Linked DNA regions of Homo sapiens: regions 1 and 2 are each linked to region 3. The links are contacts of gene promoters, found by promoter capture Hi-C in human tissues and cell types (Jung and others, 2019). All regions are on one chromosome and are shown on one strand. The core of a region is centred on a gene start or on the middle of the fragment in contact, and the rest is flanking DNA. Distances in the headings are between cores, read along the strand shown.

What was found. The method cuts DNA at HindIII sites, captures the fragments that hold promoters and counts their contacts. A contact is called where the count stands out against the background at its distance.
Region 1: a contact is called between a fragment that was not itself captured here and the fragment with the promoter of PDE4B in region 3, in 3 of the 25 tissues and cell types used here (IMR-90 fibroblasts, adrenal gland and bladder).
Region 2: a fragment that was not itself captured here is called in contact with the fragment with the promoter of PDE4B in region 3 in 2 of the 25 tissues and cell types used here (neural progenitor cells and pancreas).

What each region holds. Positions count from the first base shown.
Region 1 is chr1:65,903,320-65,906,019 of GRCh38, reverse strand. The region is part of intron 1 of PDE4B (phosphodiesterase 4B); the gene reads right to left. Among named protein-coding and RNA genes, the nearest start is that of PDE4B, 110 kb to the right of the region's middle. The HindIII fragment of the contact is 5,447 bases long and covers 1-2,700 here.
Region 2 is chr1:65,863,531-65,866,230 of GRCh38, reverse strand. The region is part of intron 1 of PDE4B (phosphodiesterase 4B); the gene reads right to left. Among named protein-coding and RNA genes, the nearest start is that of PDE4B, 72 kb to the right of the region's middle. The HindIII fragment of the contact is 6,954 bases long and covers 1-2,700 here.
Region 3 is chr1:65,791,506-65,794,307 of GRCh38, reverse strand. PDE4B (phosphodiesterase 4B) reads right to left here and starts at 1,413. Exons shown (of 17, transcript NM_002600.4): 1 at 1,060-1,413. The HindIII fragment of the contact is 13,295 bases long and covers 1-2,802 here.

The sequences.
Region 1 (2,700 bases), core at 31-2,530, 110 kb before region 3:
AAACCACTTCTTTTCATCTGATTTCTCAACAACAACATCAACAAAAGATTGAGAGCCCAACATGTGGTAGGGACTTGCTAGATGCCGTGGATAATACAAAGACGAATATACATAGTCCTTGGCCTTAAAATGCCCCTGTCTCATCTTAGGAGAGGAGAATCAACGCTTATTCATCCTACAATACTGAACACCTTGGCCTGGGTCAGGTTCACAGTGCAGTGTGAGAAGTGCAACAGATCATGGGTTCATTAGGTGAAAAAATGAGTGAAGCCACCTCTATGGGCAAAATGTTATCAAGGAAAGCTTCATTGAGGAGGCTACTGTCCTTTTCCAGGTATTGTAACTAAGAAACAAAGAGAGAAGCCCTTCCACTCCCCCTCTCTCTATTCTCCAGTGTGATCTTTTAAAAATGCAAAATTCCTTATATTAATCCCCAGCTTTGCATTCTTCATGCTTTCTGTAATTTTTAGGATAAAGCAAAACCCTTAATATGAAGATTAATCATACAAGTCCCTACAGATCTGGTCCCTGCTTGACTTTTAAACCTCAACTTCCTATTTTTGCTTCCACTTGCTTCCCCACCTTATGCTTATGCCACATCACTCTCCCCTGTAACTCATTTAGCTTTAGTTCGACTGGATGTAGAGTGTATCCAGCATGCCCTTCTTGTCTCCAAACTTTTCCTACACTATAACATGTCTTCAACTTTGCCGGGCTAACCCATTCTTCAGCCTTCAGCTTTGATGTCATTTGTTCAGAAAAGCCTTTATGGACTTCCCCTACCTGTAAGAAGGTATTATCACATTATTTTTCTATTCACAGTATTTTTCACAATTACATATTTGTTTGTATGAATGAATAGGTTTATGCCTCCCAGAAGCTCATAGAGAATACTGCCAACCACTATATCTCTTGTGCCAAGCAATAAATATTTGCTGGAAAATGTTTGAATGAGTAGACTAGATAGGCTTGAGGCCTCTTGCTAGATTCCCTGAAAGTGTGATAATCCAAAAGCAGCAGATAGGAGGGGGCAGGAAATAGAATCAGAATGCCTGGTAAACTGCAAATGTCAGCTATATTGACAGGATACATATTCCTACTCTTCTGACAGAGATATGAATAACTTTATGGCAGGCACTATTCTATAGTCCCTAAATCTATCATCTCATGTAATTCTCACAACTATTTTTATCTCCATTTTGCAGGGGAGAATTCTGAGGCCCAGAAAGGGTGAATGACTCATCTAAGCTCACTAATCTAGGAAAAGGCAGAGAGACAGGATTCACACCCAGGCACTATGCCTGCAGAGCTCATGAAATTAACCATTACGTCTGCTGCCACTTGGAAGCAGCAAATAAGCATTGTTTATCAGAGAACAAGCAGCAAATAGGATGGGTCAGGGCCAAGAAACAGGATAATTGGGAATAAAAGTAGTATTTCAGAACAAGAAAGGAATCAGAAGATTTTTTTAATGATGAAACATAAAGGAGAGATATGCAGTTGGCAGAACATATGGAGCCTATGAACAGCTACTCTTTCATGTAATCTCATAGGAATTTACATTAAATTGGAAAACGTAAATTGTGTGTATAAAACTGTATATCTAAAACATAACTTAAAAAGCATAATAATTTGTCTCTGTTTTATCTTATGTTTCAACAAGAATTCACCAAGTATTTTTTCTTCTAAATTAGACTTTGATCCAATACTAAATTTTTTTTAAGTTAATACAGAAGACTCATGACATTCATTCACAAGTGCTATGTCTCTAGACTTCAAAAAATTGTCCACCTGTACAGTGCTGTTCAAACATGTTTCATGGGGTATATGGGACACAGACAGTAATTTGGTGTAAGTCTTCTATGTAGACTCAAAGACCCCAGACACTCTTCATCAAGTAACTTTTTTTCCTTTCTTGGGAAGACCACTGAAACAACAAAGGGCAATAGTTCATTCTTGTTTTAAGCAAGCAAGCACACAAAATTTCTGTGCATTCCTTTCTCAGAAATATAAATACTACATCATTACAGACTTCATAAGAGGAAGATAACAAAAATGTGAGAAATCTTTCCAGGACTTCAAATGAATTAATGGCCTAATATTTACTGGCTTAACTGAAATATAATTGGATATGAAGTCTGCCAGTGATTCCCTACCTAGAAGCAACATCCAATTTGGGCCTGTCTGTCCCAGCTCTATTAAAATGTCAGGGGATTCAGGTCTATGTGGACATACGAAAAATAAGCATGTAAACAGAAACAATTTCAAAAGCAGAAGGCTGAAACTCATGTGGTAATACTAGAATGCCACATAATATTGTTTTGATAGAACATAAAGGAACATAGAAATACATTTTTATTGGTCTTTAAGTGTCTTCATATTTAGAAACTATCATTTCCTTATTTATTTTTGTTTTTTTAAATTTTTTAAAAATTATTTTGAGACAGGCTCTTGCTCTATTGCCCAGGCACGACCATGGCTCACTGCAGCCTCAACCTCGTGGGCTCAACAGATTCTCCGACATCAGCCTCTCAAATGAGCAGGGACTACAGATGCACACTCCCACACCTGGCTAGTGTGTGTGTGTGTGTGTGTGTGTGCATGTGTGTGTGCATATTTTGTAGAGATGGGTTTCGCCATATTGCCCAGGCTATATTTATTTTTAAAGATGAGAAATTAAGCTTTGCCCTAAGAATGGAC
Region 2 (2,700 bases), core at 151-2,650, 72 kb before region 3:
TTATTTGCATCTAGTGCCCATATAACCATAAAACTAAGGCAAATTTACAAAATAAAAAAAAAGTTGGAGTTTTAGAGGCTCAATAATGATTAACCCCTCCCTTTCCCAAGATTGGAACTAATCAAATGAAAGAGACAAGTGGAGAGCAAAATATCATCTTTCATACTGATAAAGCTGTTGAAGAACATGGCTTGGTGTGAGGATAACCTGTCCGAGTCCAAATCTTGGGACAGCCTACTTATAGAAAGTTTAGGTCTACAGAGCAGCTACAATTCACACAGGATCAGAGCTTTGTACTAGTTTCAAGGAGTGGGGGTGGTGGAGTTGGGATGGAGGGAGAGAGGGAGACAGAGAGAAAGACTGTATCAGAGAGGGACTGAATTCAGGAGGATCTGGCAAGATGGCCGAATAAAAACGGCTCCAGTCTGAGCTCCCAGGGAGACCAACAAAGAAGTTGCGTGATTTCTGCATTTCCAACTGAGGTACCCAGTTCATCTCATTGGGACTGTTTAGGCAATGGGTGCAGCCCACGGAGGAAGAGCAGAAGCAGAGTGGGGCATGCCTCACCTGGGAAATGCAAACAGCCAGGGACCTCCCTACCTCAGCCAAAGGAAGCCGTGAGGGACTGTGCTATTGGGCCCACCTAGCACGCTTTTCCCATAGTTTTTGCAATCTGCAGATCAGGAGATTACCTCATGTGCCTACACCACCAGGGCCCTGGGTTTCAAGCAAAAAACTGGGCAGCTGTTTGGGCAGACACTAAGCTAGCTGCAGGAGTTTTGTTCCTCCCCTCCCCTCCCCGCCACCCCCCAGAGGCACCTGGAACCCCAGCAAGACAGAGCAATTCACTTCCCTGGAAAGGGGGCTGAAGACAGGGAGCCAAGTGGTCTCACTCAGCGGGTCCCACTCCCACAGAGCCCATCTAGCTAAGAACCACTGGCTTGAAATTCTCACTAACGGCACAGCACTCTGAAGTCTACCTGGGACCATAGAGCTTGGTGTGGGGAAGGACATCCGCCATTACTGAGGCTTGAGTAGGCGGTTTTCCCCTGACAGTGCTAAGGAGGCTGGTAGGTTTGGACTAGGCAGAACTCACCACAGCATGGCAAAGCAGCTGTGGGCAGACTGCCTCTCTAGATTCCTCCTCACTGGGCAGTGCATCTCTGAAGGAAAGGCAGCAGCCCCATACAGGGGCTTATAGATAAAACTCCCATCTCCCTGGGACATGGCTCCTGGGGGAAGGGGCGGTTGTGGGCGCAGCTTCAGTGGACTTAAACGTTCCTGCCTGTGGGCTCTGAGGAGAGCAGCTGATACTGATGAGGTGGATTCTCCCAGCACGGTGTTTGAGCTCTGCTAAGGGACTGACTGCCTCCTAGAGTGGATCCCTGAACCCCGTGCCTCCTAACTGGGAGAGACCTCCCAACAGGGGTCGACAGACACTTCATACAGGAGAGTTCCAGCTGGCATCAGGCTGGTGCCCCTCTGGGATGAAGCTTCCAGAGTAAGGAGCAGGCAGCAATCTTTACTGTTCTGCAGCCTCCACTGGTAATACCCAGGTGAACAGGGTCTGGAGTGGAGCTTCAGCAAATTGCAGCAGACCTGCAGAAGAGGGGGCCTGACTGTTAGAAGAAAAACTAACAAACAGAAAGCAACATAAACATCAACATCAACATAAAGGACCCCCGCACAAAAACCCATCCAAAGGTCATCAGCCTCAAAGATCAAAGGTAGATAAATCAACAAAGATGAGGAAAAACCAGGGCAAAAATGCTGAAAATTCCAAAAACCAGAATGCCTCTTCTCCAAATGATCGCAACTCCTCTCCAGCAAGGGCACAAAACTGGATGGAGAATGAGATTGAAGAATTGACAGAAGTAGGCTTCAAAAGGTGGGTAATAACAAACTCCTCTGAGCTAAAGGAGCATGTTCTAACCCAAGGCAAGGAAGCTATGAACTTTGATAAAAGGTTACAGGAACTGCTAACTAGAATAACCAGTTTAGAGAAGAACATAAATGACTCGGTGGAGCTGAAAAACACAGCACAAGAACTTCGTGAAGCATACACAAGTATCAATACCTGAATTGATCAAGCAGAAGGAAGAATATCAGAGATTGAAGATCAACTTACTGAAATAAGGTATAAAGACAAGATTACAGTAAAAAGAATGAAAGGGAATGAACAAAGCCTCCAAGAAATATGGGGCTCAAATTCACACATAATAATATTAATCTTAAATGTATATAGGCTAAAAGCCCCAATTAAAAGACACAGACTGGCAAATTGGATAAAGACCCATCAGTGTGCTGCATTCAGGAGACCCATTTCGTGGCAAAGACATACATGGGCTCAAAATAAAGAGAAGGAGGAATATTTACCAAGCAAATGGAAAGCCAAAAAAGCAGGGGTTGCAATCCTAGTCTCTGATAAAACAGACTTTAACTGACAAAGATCAAAAAAGAGAAAGAAACGCATTACGTAATGGTAAAGGGATCAATGCAACAAGAAGAGCTAACTATCCTAAATATGCATGCACTGAATACAGGAGCACCCAGATTCATAAAACAAGTTCTTAGAGACCTACAAAGAGACTTAGACTCCCACACAATAATAGTGGGAGACTTTAACACCCCACTGTCAATATTACACAGATCAACAAGACAGAAAATTAGCAAGCATATTCAGGACTTGAACTCAGCTCT
Region 3 (2,802 bases), core at 164-2,663:
TGCCTTTCATTCTTATAACTTAGCCAAGAGTTTTCCAGCAGCTGGAAATCTTTGAAATTAAACGATGCATGTGATTCAAAGAACAGTTATATCTCAGATCTAAGATGCAGAATGCATAGAGTTACCATTTCTGTTCAGTGGCATCATATAATTATGATGTAAACCTAATGTAAGTACAATGTAATTTTAGGTGACCGTCTCAAAGTCTTGCTAAAAATTATCCCAGGCACGTGTGTGACACACACAGACACACACACACACATATATAACTACTGTAATTAAGAGCGATTCTTCTGTGCGCTCCTCCTTATACACGCTTTAAAGCTGTTGGCCATAGTGGGTTCCGATTTGTGTTTGAAGTACCGCACAAGGAAGGTGGCCTGTGAAAAACGGGAAGGAAGGAGGCAAAACAGGAAGATGGAAGAAGAGAGTAGGCATGAAGGAAAGTGACAGGAGAAAGGAGGAGAGCCTCTTCCTTCCCCAACACACTCTTGTAGCTAGAAAGGTCCAAGCCCCCTCACCAAACACCAGACAAATCTTCCCAAAAGTTCCTGGCAGAGCCTTGGTGATGCCGAGGCTTGAGTGCGCCCCTCCTTGGTGCCCCAGCCACCAGGGCACGCAGGAGCATCCTGGAGCCTCAGCCCAGCAAACTCTTGGGTAGTTCAGGTTCCCTTCCGCGCCCGCTGCCTGCAGTCAATCACTGGGCACCGCGCGCCCATCCGTCACCTACTCCAGGGCTTCCAAGCCCTGAATCCTTCTGCCTCTCTCCATTCTCCCTTAGCCTCTCTCCATCCTCTCCTCCCCAGTGACTTGTCAAGAGGTCCAAGGGCGGAAGCCGAAGCAGAGAAGATGAGGGCGAAAGGCTAGGGGCCGGTTGGCGGATTTCCTACAAGGGGCGACAATGACGCCGTCAAGACGACCATCCAGGCCCGGCGGCCCCATTCCCTCTTTGCCCCACATCAGCCCCACAGCACCCTACACTCTCCATTGAGGCTTCAGTGTGTGATGAAGTAAGAGAATGAGGAAAAATAAACCCGCAGCCTCCTAGGCAGCCCTTACCTCAGGCTGCCCTCGCAGAAGCCGCCCTCCTCCTGCCCGAGGCGCCTCTGCTGCACCGCCGCGGCCGCAGCGCTCTGGACGCCGGGGCTCCGCCCGGCGCGGGTAGACCATGCGCTGCGAGTGAGCCTTCCGCGCTCCCGGGGGTGGGGGACGAAAGTCTGCCCGGAGGGCGCTCGCGTGCAGCCCGGCCCGCGACGAAGAGCCTGCAGCCGCTGAGGCGAGGCCAGGAGCCCCGGGAAGGGGCGCGCGGGCCGGGGGCGCGCGCGCGGACGGGCCAGCGGGCTAGCCTGGGGAACCCGCGCCAGGGAGACACAGGCGCTGGCGACGCGCCCCTCAGCTCTTCTCTCGTCCTCTGGCCCTTTAAACCCCCTCTCCCTACTGTCCACCCCCGCCCCCCGGAAGAGAGACAGCTCGCCGGTGCCACTTGGTCTGCCGCGCTGCGCTCCTCAGCCGGGTGCGGGGAATAACAATGTGACCGTATCGCACGGACGAGATGCTGTGTAGTAGGTTGTAACTGCTGAGGCCACCACCTGTCAATTCTAGGGTGCAAAGCACGCCGTCCCCAGTCGTCTGGCCTCTCCCTGATTGCCCTCCCAGGTTATTTTTTCCCCCACCTACCTCACAGACCTCCTGCAATATTCCGCGGGCACGGTACCAGGGGAGTTTTGCAAAATAACCCTCTCTCCCAGCCGGGAGCTCACTGCATCTCCCTTACCACCAGAGCTGAAGGATTACGCACAGCCCTGCGTGCCTATCCAAAGCCAGAGACCGAAAATCCTGGTTTGAACCCCACACTCGCCGGCCCCCCAGCCCCCATTCATAATCCCAGCGGCCGTCTGCCACTACACACCCTCCCCCGGCCGCCCGCGCTCTTTCCCATTCGCCGTCCCTGGAACGTGTCAGTCACTCGCTGTGCATCTGCCATGAATACAAGACGAAGAGCTCTGCAGCTACTGGCTGCACAAAGAGGGACTGGGGCGCAGGGGACGCAGACCCCCGGGTTGGGGGAGGCGAGAGAGCCAGCGGGGCACATTACGTGGAAGGAGCCAGTGGGACCGTGGGAGTCCTCTGGTCTCCTGTTGCACAAAGGAGCGCCAGAGTGAATACGCGCAGTGCTCCTGAACCAACAGGTCAGATCACCTCCCAAGAGGTGCTCCACCAAGACACCCCTGAAGGTGAGTCCCACAACTTGGGAATTCGTGTGATGGAGCAACAGGCACTCAGTAACCTGACTGAGCCTGCTTTAAAAATGCAACAGGATGGAGAGAGAGCGAGAGCGAGAGCGAGAGAGAGAGAGAGAGAGAGAGAGAGAGAGTGTGTGTGTGTGTGTGTGTAGAGTGGGAGAGGTATGCTGGAAAGCACAAGTTTCCTTTTCCCCGGTTGTCCAGCCCTTTCAGTCAGAGAAAAAAAGAAGGAAGCTGGCAAGGAAAAGAGGAGGAAGATAGGCATGAAGTAACTTTGCCTATCCAACTACTACAGTAGCTAGAGACCAAAATGACTTTAATAGACAACATTCGCCTGTTTCTCGATTTATTCCAATAAACATCATGCACACCTACTGTGCACTGAGCACTTTGCAGAAGCTAAGGATGCAGAGTCGATTAGGACATAGTCTCTGCACCCAAGGAGCTCACTGCCTAATAGGAGAACCAACTATGAAAGCCCGAGACAAACAACACAAGTATTTCACAACAGAAGCACATGCCAATTGCATAAGTGGAAGCAATTTTTTCTATGTAAGAG